Regions from separate parts of the Homo sapiens genome. Here region 1 is linked to region 2. Evidence: promoter capture Hi-C in 16 types of primary human blood cells and fetal thymus (Javierre and others, 2016). All regions are on one chromosome and are shown on one strand. Each heading gives the region's core, a stretch centred on a gene start or on the middle of the fragment in contact. The rest is flanking DNA. Distances are from core to core; before and after follow the strand shown. Region 1 overlaps CCDC141 (coiled-coil domain containing 141). Region 2 holds the start of RBM45 (RNA binding motif protein 45).

What was found. Contacts are between HindIII fragments. The CHiCAGO score rates a contact against its expected background, and 5 or more counts as called.
Region 1: a fragment that was not itself captured here is called in contact with the fragment with the promoter of RBM45 in region 2 in 1 of 17 cell types (neutrophils); the score reaches 7.6 in neutrophils.

What each region holds. Positions count from the first base shown.
Region 1 is chr2:178,917,209-178,922,938 of GRCh38, reverse strand. It overlaps CCDC141 (coiled-coil domain containing 141), which reads left to right. Exons shown (of 24, transcript NM_173648.4): 7 at 4,032-4,226. LOC105373766 (a long non-coding RNA gene) reads right to left here. Exons shown (of 4, transcript XR_001739140.2): 4 at 581-658. Among named protein-coding and RNA genes, the nearest start is that of TTN, 110 kb to the right of the region's middle. The HindIII fragment of the contact is 8,194 bases long and covers 1-5,730 here.
Region 2 is chr2:178,109,883-178,116,092 of GRCh38, reverse strand. RBM45 (RNA binding motif protein 45) reads right to left here and starts at 3,656. Exons shown (of 10, transcript NM_152945.4): 1 at 3,247-3,656. The coding sequence starts at 3,546. RefSeq lists an enhancer at 3,451-3,620. The HindIII fragment of the contact is 3,392 bases long and covers 689-4,080 here.

The DNA of each region.
Region 1 (5,730 bases), core at 1,729-4,228, 810 kb before region 2:
CATTTAATACCCACAGAGTTCATGTGAAAATGTAATTAAGAAGACTGGGGATGGAGAACAAAAAAAGATAAGAGCCACAAAATGGCCCCTTACAGTTTCTTTGGAAGGTCACAGTAAACTTTTTATAGCACAGTGCCAAGCACAAGGTTAAAGTGGGTTTTCAAAGGCTTGGCTCTACTCCAAAGGTCTTTCTTTAATGTTGTCTGCAAAATTTATACTGAAGGCAGATTTATGAAATCGCTGGAGAACAGGTATTTCTCTTCTTGTTTATTATTTTGGTCCAGTTGCTAAGCAAAACTAAGTCTAAGTTTGGGCTGTAAATTTTCAACTATATCTATATTAGCTTTGTGTTTATTCTGAAATAGCGAGCCTTCTGATTTCAAATCTGAGAATCCCAGGGTCATACAAGATTTTTATCACCTCCGAGGTCTTGTCCAGGCCATGTGGAAGTTTTACCTAGGCAATTCCAAAATAATATGGTTAATCATTCTTTGATGAGAAAAACAGTGTGTCAAGACTGAGAAGAGCTGGGCTGGAAATCTGGTTGAGATAGCAGATTGTAGAGTCAAACTACCTGAGTTTGAAATTTGGCTCTTTCTCTTACTAATGTTGACATCTTGGGCAAGTTGGTAATCTCCCTTGGCCCCAGTTACTCCATCTGTAAAATGAAGATAATAACAGTTCCTACCTCATAAGGATATGATAAAAATTAAATGACATAATGCATGTAAAGCATTTAGCACACCACTAACATACAGAAAGAAAAATCAACCCTTACCATCTTGCAGACAGTTAAGACAACATCCTAGAGCTTAGTGTTGTTAGACTGAGCACGCAATGGCTATATTTCATTTCTTCATATCCTAACTTCTGCATTTTCCTTGCCCCTGTTTTTCTAGGCCCTCCCCAGCTTCTCCATATTCATTAAGTAGTCTCCCCTAATCGCACAGAAAGTTCTGATCAATGCCAAATCTTTTTAAAGAATTACCTGCTTTATTCTGCATCTTTACACATTATTTCTCCACCTGAGTTTGAGTATTAATGCCCCACAGATCTGAACAGACAGAAGAAGAAAGGATGGTACAAAGAGAGGAAATGAACTAACAGAGGAGCTGGAGAACAGGGACAAAACAAAGAACGAAACAGAAAGACTTGTGGGAGCTGGTGAACCCAGTTGGTGATTCAGCTGCTCTTAGCTATAGAACGTTTTTCCCCAACATTGTTCCAACTGGAGCATTGGTCCCCTGAGATGACTACAAACAGTTTATTAATCAAAAGAGTTTGCCCAAAATATTCCACACCACACTTTCCTCTAGGAGAGTCTCAATGCACATTAATACATTAAAGATGCCAAGAAGTACTGCAGTAAAAAAAAACAAAAACAAACGAAAACCACAAAAAAAAACCTGTTTTACTTTGTTTCATCTCATAAGACTGTTCAATACTTAACACTAATCAATAACATTTTGGGAAATATTTCACTGCCATTATTTTACAAGTGGGTAATGGGAATACCCATAAATAAAGAACACATTTGGAGAGCTAATGAACCAAAACTGATGCTCAGAAAAGTGGGACTAACACTTAGTGAGTGCCTATTATGTGTGCCAGAAATTGTACTGTTTTAAAAATATTTGCTCATTCCCAGTAGGTTAAAGTAATGGTTTTTAAGTGGTAACGGTAATAAAAGTGCTTTATGAAAGAACATCTTGGCACATATTAGTTTTCCTTAAGTGGGGACACAATAGCTCTTTAAAAATTGAAAGATCTTGAGAACTCACGTAGCCCATATCCATGCTTAAGAGTGCTGCTTTTGCATGCACTGAGAAATTGCAGATTTTGGAGTCTATCCTCAGTTCCCTGGAAGGTAGCATGAGACAAAGACCTGTGAACTAGTCCTGGTACTGCCTCTTACTGGATACGTAACCTTGAGTAGCATACTCTTCTGAACCTATGTCAATACTAGAAAAAATAATAATATCTAATTTAAGGGTTTTTGAGGATTATAGTTATAAGCCACAATTTTATATAACTGATACTTCAAATAATTCAAATTTCTTACTCTACATTTTATACTCCTGTATTCATTGATCAAAATGTTTTTCTTTTGCACCTAAAACTATAACAGTTTCCATGGACACCACAAAATAATATGTACAGTTTCTATCTTAACATCTGCTAATTGTTATTTAAAATACTATTGTATTGAGTGTGTGTGTGTGTGTGTGTGTGTGTGTGTGTGTATGGAGTTCAGTGACATGATCACAATTCACTGCAGCCTCAACTTCCTGGTCTCAAGCGATCCTCCTACCTCAGCCCCACCGAGTAGCTGGAACTACAAGCATGCGCCACTATGCCCAGCTAATTTTTTGCATTTTTTGTAGAGACAGGGTTTTGCCATGTTGCCCAGGCTGGTCTCAAACTCCTGGGCTCATGCCATCTGCTTGCCTTGGCCTCCCAAAGTGCTGGGATTACAAACGTGAGCCACCACACAAGCCATTTTATTCTTTCTTTATATTCCCCAAGGCATCTGTCTTAGCATAGTGCTGGGGACATAGTAGTACCATAGTAGTTACTTTGTAAAATGAATGAATGGAAACAATAATGGCAAATTGCACTAAAATTGTGCTGATTTTACACAATGTAATATAACAAATGTAACTTAATAATAGGATACTTTGTACTGGTAGAACAAGGCAGGATGGAGTCAGACTGAGACTTCTGAAATCTTGTGCTAAATTTTCCACGCTTCACAAGTAGCCTATGCCTATCACTCAACCGCAGCTTATATGGATACCAGAAGATTCACTAACAAGACAGTCATGTTAGAGATAATCATTCTTTTATGACAGTGGGTCTGACTTCAGGACTTTTGCAAGAAACTTGAATTTCCCTTCAAATAAATTGAATGTAAATATGTTTGGTTTACTCCAACTCATATTTTAATTCTGTTTAATGTTTTTCCATTCTCATGCAACAAAAAGTAAAAAGCTACCTCTTTTCATTTTCTGAAAGGTCTATATACCATTAAGAGTGAAGCCTTGAGAGGTGAAACCGATATCATGAAGGAGAAAATACCGAACAATAACAGCTATTCATTTTATGAGGAGTAACAGAACTTCATTTTATTAGGTTGGTGCAAAGGTAATTACTTTTAATGGCAAAAACCACAATTACCTTTGTACCAACCTAATAGCTGTAATTGTAGGCAGACACAAAAACAACAGTCATAAGACATGTGATTTCTCTTCATTTCTTGTACACATTTACCTGCATTGACAGTGAGACTGAATTGTGGGAAAGATATGTTTTTATACTTAAATGAATACACATCGGACAAAATGAGTTCAAGATTTAAAACTGTTGTTCATTGTATAGGGGGTATATTTTTAGGTGGAGTTCACAGAAATGGAAGTGACCTGTATTCAGGTCAGCTGGTAGCTCTGCCAGTCACTCATCCCAACTTCCTGCCTCTTTCTACTCTCCCTTTTTAGCCTCTTTCTGTGTCTTTTCCCACTACATCTACATGGTACTCAAACCTGTAGTGAAGCATTTACCACTACAATATTTACTACAATTTCATGATTTGAAAATCGAATGGCAGATTTTTGATATACTCAGCATATCTAAATATTCTCTGAATCTTATCAGAAATTATAAAAAGAGGTGTCTTTGTCAGTTTGAGTTTCTATAACAAAGTAACATAGACTGAATGGCTTGTATACAATAGATATTTATGTCTCATTGTCCTGGGTGTGAGAAGTTTGAGATCAGGGTGCCAGCACGGTAGAGTTGTGGTGAAAACCCTCTTCTGGGTTGCAGACTGCCAACTTACTGTATCCTCACATGGTGGAAGGGGCAAGGCAGCCCTCTCAGGCCTCTTTCATAAGGTCACTAATCATCTCCCAAAGCCCTACTTCCTAATATCATCACCTTGGGGGTTAGATTTCAGCAGAGGAATTTCGGGGGGACACAAGCATTCGGTCCATAACAGAGGAGATGTATAAAATAATAAGAATAATCTCTTGCAGGAATGGAATTCTGCTGTTGAGAAGCTGAAGAGTGAGGCACTGAGAATTCTGCTGTCAAAGGACTACGTGGAGAAAGAACACCTCCAGCTCTCTCACCAGAAACTCAGTCAGCTTCAAGAAGAATTTGGTCAACTCATGGTGGAAAGGAATACCTGGTTAAAGAAGGCGAATGAATTTTTTAACAGTGCTAACAAGGTCAGTGTGAGGTCAAGTTGATAATTTTCGGTAATCAGGCAGACCAGTAAAAGACCCATTACTTCAACTGACTGGAGCACATCACAGAAGTCAAAACGCCATGTAAAATTTCAAAACTGATAGCAGCAAAGAGAGCTTTTAACATATATTCCTATTATGGCCATTATTTGATTCTCAAAACTGAAAGACTGTTTTCACATGTAAAAGGTGACTTTAAAAACAACAAACAAACCTCGTGAGGGTTTTTTGTCTTTTTGTTTTGTTTGGTTTGGTTTGGTTCATTGGATGGTTTTTGTTGTTGTTTTGAGAAAGGGCCTGGCTCTGTCACCCTGGCTGGAGTGTAGTGGCGTGATCATAGCTTACTGCAGCCTCGACCTCCTGGACTCAAGTGATTGTCCCACCTCAGCCTCCCACGTAGCTGGAATCATAGGCACATGCCACCATGCTTGACTACTTTTTTTTTTTGGTAGAGACAGGGTCTTGCTATGTTGTGCAGGCTGGCCTCAAACTCCTGGGCTCAAGTGATCCTCCTGCGCTGGCCTCCCAAAATATTGAAATTGTAGGCATGAGCCACCATGCCTAGCCTCATGAGGGTTTTATCTTACAGCTGCCACTGGTCTGTTTCGGGGGGACACTTGTGCCCACATTATAGTGTTTCCCATGGAGGAAGAGAATTATCATAAATGTATCAAGGCTGAAAAATACCTTAAAATTTTTACCGAAGGCCTCCTTTTATTCATCCTCTTTAATTTACCAGGTAAAATACATATGAATATTGCAAGCCTTTTTGCACACAAGCCGTAAGGCTAGAAACAGTGCCTTAGCCTGATTGTTCCACCTTGGTCTTGCCTTTTTAAGTCAGCCAGAGTGAAATCTGGCTGTGGACCATCTCCAGGTCTTGAGTTGGAGGAGTGCTCTGCTTCTCCTCTCTGATTCATTGGACATTGATTGCAGCAGGTGGTTCCTGCTAAGTGGCAATGTTCACCTGTTCACATCACTTGAGTACGGCTCAGTGTAAGAGGCTGGTGATCTTATTTGAAAATTTTTTCTACCTTTTCCAATGTAATATACACCTTCAAACGGTGTTTTTAGAATTGTTTCATACCTTAAATTTCACTGATGTTTTCAAAACGGACAATGTGGCAGGAAATGAATGAGGAAACCCTGGAACCTAGGTACATTGTGATCTAAAAATCACAACATCAACACCCTGAATACAATGTCCTGGTGTATATCAAAATAGTGACTTAATTTTGAACTTCTTTACTAATAAGAAACTTTTTGAAAAAATAAATAGTAAAATTTCAAAACAGAGTTGCTAAATTGTGGTAAAATGTTAAAGAAAGATTTATTGTCAGATTATTTGTCATTTGGGATTTCTTTAAGAGAGGAAACAGATATACCATATTACTGGAGCTATTGAACTAATTAGATGTTAGGTGCTAGTTAAGTTTCTCCTCAGTAATTCTGTTTTTGAATAAGAGACTTTTAAATTTAAACTGCA
Region 2 (6,210 bases), core at 2,407-4,906:
GCAGTCTCAACATTCTAGGCTCAAGTGATCCTCCCACCTCAGCCTCCCAAGTAGCTGGGACCACAGGCACACACCACCACACCCAGCTAATTTTTTAATATTTGTAGAGACAAGGTCTTGCTATGTTGTCCAGGATGGTCATGAATTCCTGGGCTCAAGTGATCCTCCCACTTTGACCTTCCAAAGTGCTGGGATTACAGGTGTGAGCCACTGTGCTGGGCCTGCAATGACTTTTTTTTATGAGATAATACCAATCTCTGCATTGTGTTTTTCCCAAATGTATTTCTACTTTTGCATTTATTTTTAGCCAGAGTAATTTGAAGAAACGTAATACAATTAATTAAAACACCATAAACAAGGGCACTTGCATTGTTTGTTTCTTTTTCCTTTAAAGGGGTCTCTATATCTTGGTCTCTGATCCACTGCTGGTAAAGGGGGCTCTGTATCATTAAAGCATGAGAAAACTGGAACTTATGAAATTCCACAGTAGGAAGCAGCAACCAAGAAAACCACAGTGTTAGAGACATATCCCTTTATAGTCTACTTCTAGTTATTCCTTCAATAAATCTATACTATATGTCAAGCACCATATGAGTACAACTATTGAGTAACATGGAAATGGCCCACTAGAGTCTTGTGGCTGATATCAGTAATAAATGGTAAATAGGGAAATACAAATAGGGAAGCTTTAAGTATATGCAAAGACACTAGAGAAAAAAAAAAGAACCTCAGGTAAGATGAAATTGGAAGTGCCATCAGAGCACAGATTTCTATATTTTAGAGGACTGAGGTGTTTCAAATCTCTGATAAAGGAGACAGTCTATGTAGAACATACGTAAAATAATTAACCTCCTCATGGTAGATTTCTCCCATAAATTTTTACCTTCATAGACTGAGTGTTCATAGGCTCTAGATAAGAAGCATTCTTGCAAAACTACAGCCAAGATTTTTTTCTTCTGTTTTCTAGGTTTCCCCCTTTCCGCCAGATAACATAGTTGGTCACAGAATAACTTTTACTTGGACAATCTTTTCTGGCTGAGGGCTGGTAAGATAATATTGTTGTCTTACAGATCCTCTGAAACTTTGTAAAAGCAAAGTACAATAGAAATATTGAAGCTGAATTAATTTAACTGGAAATGCTGAAAACAACCCAAGAGTGTTCCAGTTGAAGATGGCTCAAGCTGCAGCTGCTGAATGAAACTAGTCTGTTAGGGTGTGGTGGCTCACAACTGTAATGGGAGGATGAAACGGGAGGCTCACTTGAGTCCAGGAGCTTGAGACCTGCTTAGGCAACATAGTGAGACCCTGTCTCTAAGAAAAATAAAAAAAATAAGCTGGGCATGGTGGTGCACATCTGTAGTCCCAGCTACTCGAGAGGGAGGATGAGGCAAGAGGATTGCTTGAGTCTGGGAGGTGGAGGCTACAGTGAGCTGTGATCAAGAAGCCACTGCACTCTAGCCTGGGTGACAGAGTGAGATTCTGTCTCAAAAAAAGAAAAAGAAACAGAAACTAGACTGTCTAGCTAGGTACTACAGTGAAACAACCTTCTGGCTAAAACTGAATAGTCAAAAATGTGACAAAGAAAATAGTAAAGTTTATTTCTTTTTGGGAACAAGATCTTTAATTTCTCTGAGGCTAAAAGAGAGGGTACATTTCGGTGTTGGGCCTTTAATTTCTCTTATAGAAATTTATCAGGGGAAGGTGGTCCATCAATTTCAAATATGGGACAGTTTTTTGGGCTGCCCACAAGGGCTCTGTGGCCATGTTACACTCAAAATATAAAAATCCTCTCCACTAAGGTCATAATTGGACAGCGATAAAATTCATTAGTCTAGTACAGGGGTCAGCAAACCACAGCTCCATTTTTGGTATAGCCCATGATGTAATAATTGTTTTTACAGTTTTTAAGGACTGTAAAAACAGACAAGGTTATGTGACAGAGACTGTATGTGGCCTGCAAAGCCTAAAATATTTACTAGTCAGCCCTTTACAGAAAAAGTTTGCCAATTCCTGATCCTGTATGCTGTGGCCCTACAATTAATTTTGTTGCTGTCACTCTGACACACTTCAGAGGGTTGGAGAAGTGGGAGGAAGGGACTGTTTACTGTGTTGTTGGTAGAGTCCCAGGCTCCTTCTCTTTGGTGGATGGAGCAAGACCTCCAGAGACTGAAATATCTCTGAGCCCTTTATTTACATAAATCCATATTAATACCATTCTCAGTTTGGAAAACAATTTTTTAAAAAATTGAGAAAATATTTTTGTGCAAAGTACCAACAGAATAACATACACAGCAACTATTTACATGGGGCAGACGAAGGCTACAATTTAAGCAATTGCCAGATTCTCAGGATTGAGTCCTGATTTGAGATCACAGGGAGTAAGCTGTGACATCTTGGCTACTACTGATCAATAACAAGGACATTATTGAGGGCTTACCCTGTGTGAGGCACTGTGCTGACAGCACATATTATGTCAAATAACCCTCAAAATGATCCTTCCTGCCATGTGTCATTATCACAATGATTTGGCTCTTCTTAAGGCAGTTTACTTTGGTCTGCTTTCAAAGAAAAGTTGCAGTAACAGAAAGGGTCAAGAACCAAATGTATGCTATTAACACTTTCAGAAACAGAGCTCATTCAAAACAATTTTCCAAAATAACAAAATGTGAAGAATATGTAACAGTGACCGTTTTAAACACCTGCACTTATTCTTTCTGTACATGTATTCTTTCGCCTGGTACTAGGAAAACGTCCAACACCAGAGGTCCCTCCCCAGTTTAAAGTACTTCTGTCAAGTTGTTAACGCCTCATCTGTACCTGAGGAAAAGTAGAGTTTTTCCGTTTTTTATATATGGAAATCTGGGCATCTGAGAGAGGAAGGTCAGAAAAGTACTCAAAGTAGGCTAGGACGAGTTTGGCAGTGAACTCAAGAGCTGGTGGATTAGTGAGGGCGAGGGAGAGGGGAAGCCCAGCCACTGCTGTTCTGTCACCCGGTGGCCGCGGCTGCCGGGTCCGCTCTCGTGGGGCAAACACTCCGCATCCCGTCCCCTTCCCTGCAACCCGGCGCAGCTTCGTGGGAGGGGAGCCTCTCCTCAAAGCAGCCCCTGTCCCCAAGCCAGGTGCTGTCTGGTCAGCTGCCGGGAACGGATGTTCCACTCCTCCCTCACCCCGGCAGAGCAGCAGGTGAAGGGAGGTCCAAGAGGCCCACTCCTTCCCCCGAGGGCACCCCGACCCGGGCACCCGCACCTTGATGGGCTTGGTGTCGTTGGGGCCGAGGCACTGGCCATGCATCTCCTCCATGGCCCTGCAGGCCTGTGAGCTGCGGGCGAACTTGACGAAAGCAATGCCCTTGGACTCCTTGGTGTGCTTGTCCCGCACCACCCAGATGTCCTGGATGTCGCCAAAAGGCGAGAAGCGCTCCCTCAGCACCGACTCAGGTGTGTACTTGCTGATCACAAGGAAGATGCGGCTGTTGGGCGGTTCGTCCAGGCTGTCCACGCCCGGGCGGAAGCCCCCGCCGCTCGCAGAGCTGCCAGCTTCGTCCATGGTGCTCCACCCGAATGCAGGAGCCTCACTGCTCTTTGCTTCTGCGGTGTCTGCCACCGCTGCTGTCTCACACCCAAGCCTTTGCCGGCTCGGTGCTCCGCTTCCGGGAGAAAGAGGAGTCCGGCGCCAGGCGCTGTCCAGCCGCGCAGGATGAGGCCTTCCGGGGAGCGGCCTGCAGCGCCCCCTGGCGACGCGGGGGACCCTGACCCAGTCTAAGTCTCAAATCCTCAAATCCAGCTGAGCCTAGGCCCAAGTTATCAGTTGTGCAATCGTTCCCTGCAGGCAGAACAGCGCTGCCTAATGCACAGGCTTTCCCAACGCTGGCTTTACCCCACCCCTAAGGCCAAGGATTCTTTCCAGTGTTAAAGAAAAAATTATTCATGACACTCGTTAGAGATGGTACAGGAAGGCCGACTTTGACAAAGGGAGCCATGGAGATAGGTCCAGGGACAGCTGCAATGGGGTCTTGCAGTGGGAGAGAGAGATTGGACTGAATTTTGACTCTAATAAGGACAAATTTCTAACCAAGAAGCTTGGTGGGAGGTCAGTGGATGGAAAATTACAAAGAGGGAACATCAGTGTTAAGGAGGATTCTGGCTAAACCAACTTGACAGGATAGTTGCTGAAGGCAGGCCAGGGTGATTGATATCCATGGTAGTCAGACACCAAGAATGAGGATTTTCACTACACTGATTCAGCAGGATTCTTGCTCAAATTGGATTCTACAAGGACAGAAAGCCCAAGATCAAGCCTAGTCAAGCAGAGGACTCAAAGGAGCCTAACTAAGTTTTGGTCAAAGTGGAGAGTTGTCACCATCTTGGTCATAAGCTCAATAGATGATCAATATAGGACAGAGTTCAAACTATATAGCATTAGAGTTGGAAGGAAGCTTTGAGATCATTCAATTTCAGCGTCATTTGTTAGAGATGAGGAAACTGAGGCCTATAGCATAGCCAAAGTAATAGAGATAAAAAGTACGACTAAAACCAGAACTAACTTGGCCAGGCGCAGTGGCTCACGTCTGTGATCCCAGCACTTTGGGAGGCCGAGGCGGGCGGATCACGAGGTCAGGAGATCGAGACCATCCTGGCTAACACGGTGAAACCCCGTCTCTACCAAAAAAATACAAAAAAATTAGTTTGGCGTGGTGGCGGGCACCTGTAGTCCCAGCTACTCAGGAGGCTGAGGCAGGAGAATGGTGTGAACCCAGGAGGCACAGCTTGCAGTGAGCAGAGTTTGCACCACTGCACTCCAGCCTGGGGGATAGAGCGAGACTCCACCTCAAACAACAACAACAACAACAAAAAACCCAGAACTAACTCCATCTGTTGATTTACTCAACTTCTACAAGCAACCCTGGGGTTGGAGGGCAGTGAGGGTGGACTGCTCAGCTGTGGAACTAAGAGAAATCATAGAGTGCAAGCAAAGTGGGAAATGCCTTCTTGTTAACAAGCCTTAGAGGAGAGGTCAGAAACCCAGTAGAAATCCAGAAACAAGGCCTGGATTTAGCAGTGGCATTGGAATGAAGTGAAAGGAATAAACCCCTAAGTAGACCGAGGGCGGAGTTCTTCAAATGAACAAGTTCTGGATGCTAAGACCTAGGTTGCTATGAAGTCAACCAGATAAATACTTATTGTACTCCAACTGTGTGCCAGGCTCTATGCCAGGAGCTAGATATATAATGAGGAACAGGAAAGACATGTCCCGAGGGCTTGTTTTCCCCCACTGTGGAAATCTTACATGTAAATATATAATGCAAAGTAATATCAGATTATGTTACATGGTTTTGCTACTGAATTGTGTGAGCCTGGACAAGTTACTTAATACTTGCAGCTTCGGTTTCATTAACTGTAAAGTAGGAATAATATTACCTACTAAATAGGTAATACATATTATTTTGTGGTTGGATTAGTTAAGCTTGATAGCCGCCTAATAGCTACGCAGGAGCATGACTATCAAGTTTAATTAATTCACCCATTCACTTAATAAGTATTTTTGACTATCTACTATGTGTTAGGCACTGTGTTATACTGAAGGGATGTAGTATTGAACAAAATAATTACTCTTCTTCCCCCACAGAGTTAATCATTTAGCCTTATATAGTTATGCTCATATAAGATAATATATATGGAGTTCATAGTTTAGAGATCAAATGAGATAATATTTGTATAATGGTATAATTGAGATTAATTTTCTTGTTCCCTTTGACTATGGTATCCACTCCCCCACCACTGATATTATACAGTTGTGTGATGACTACTGAGAGTCAGGGATTGTGGGTTGTCACCCTGGATTTAGCACTAAGATTTTTATAATTTCTCCTTGTATTACATTCCATATCTGTAGTGAGGGTTCTGTTTACCCTGAGGCTGAACAACTCTAGGAAGTATCTTTTCTTGACTTTCCATTTCTCTTTTTCCTACCCACAACAATCAAGGTAAATGAAAATAATTTGATAGTGTGAGTTTTGTTGATGAGAGGAACTGCAAAGCAATATTATTTGCAAACCAGTGCCATCTAGTGGAAAATGTGTAATTTTCTTAAATTGTCCTGACTGGGCAATCTCTATTCTTTGTGAAATAAGACTACTGATTGGTGTCCTGAAAATTTTAGGCTGTTATTGAGAACAGTTAATTCTTTTCTCAAAAAAAGATAAAAGATTGC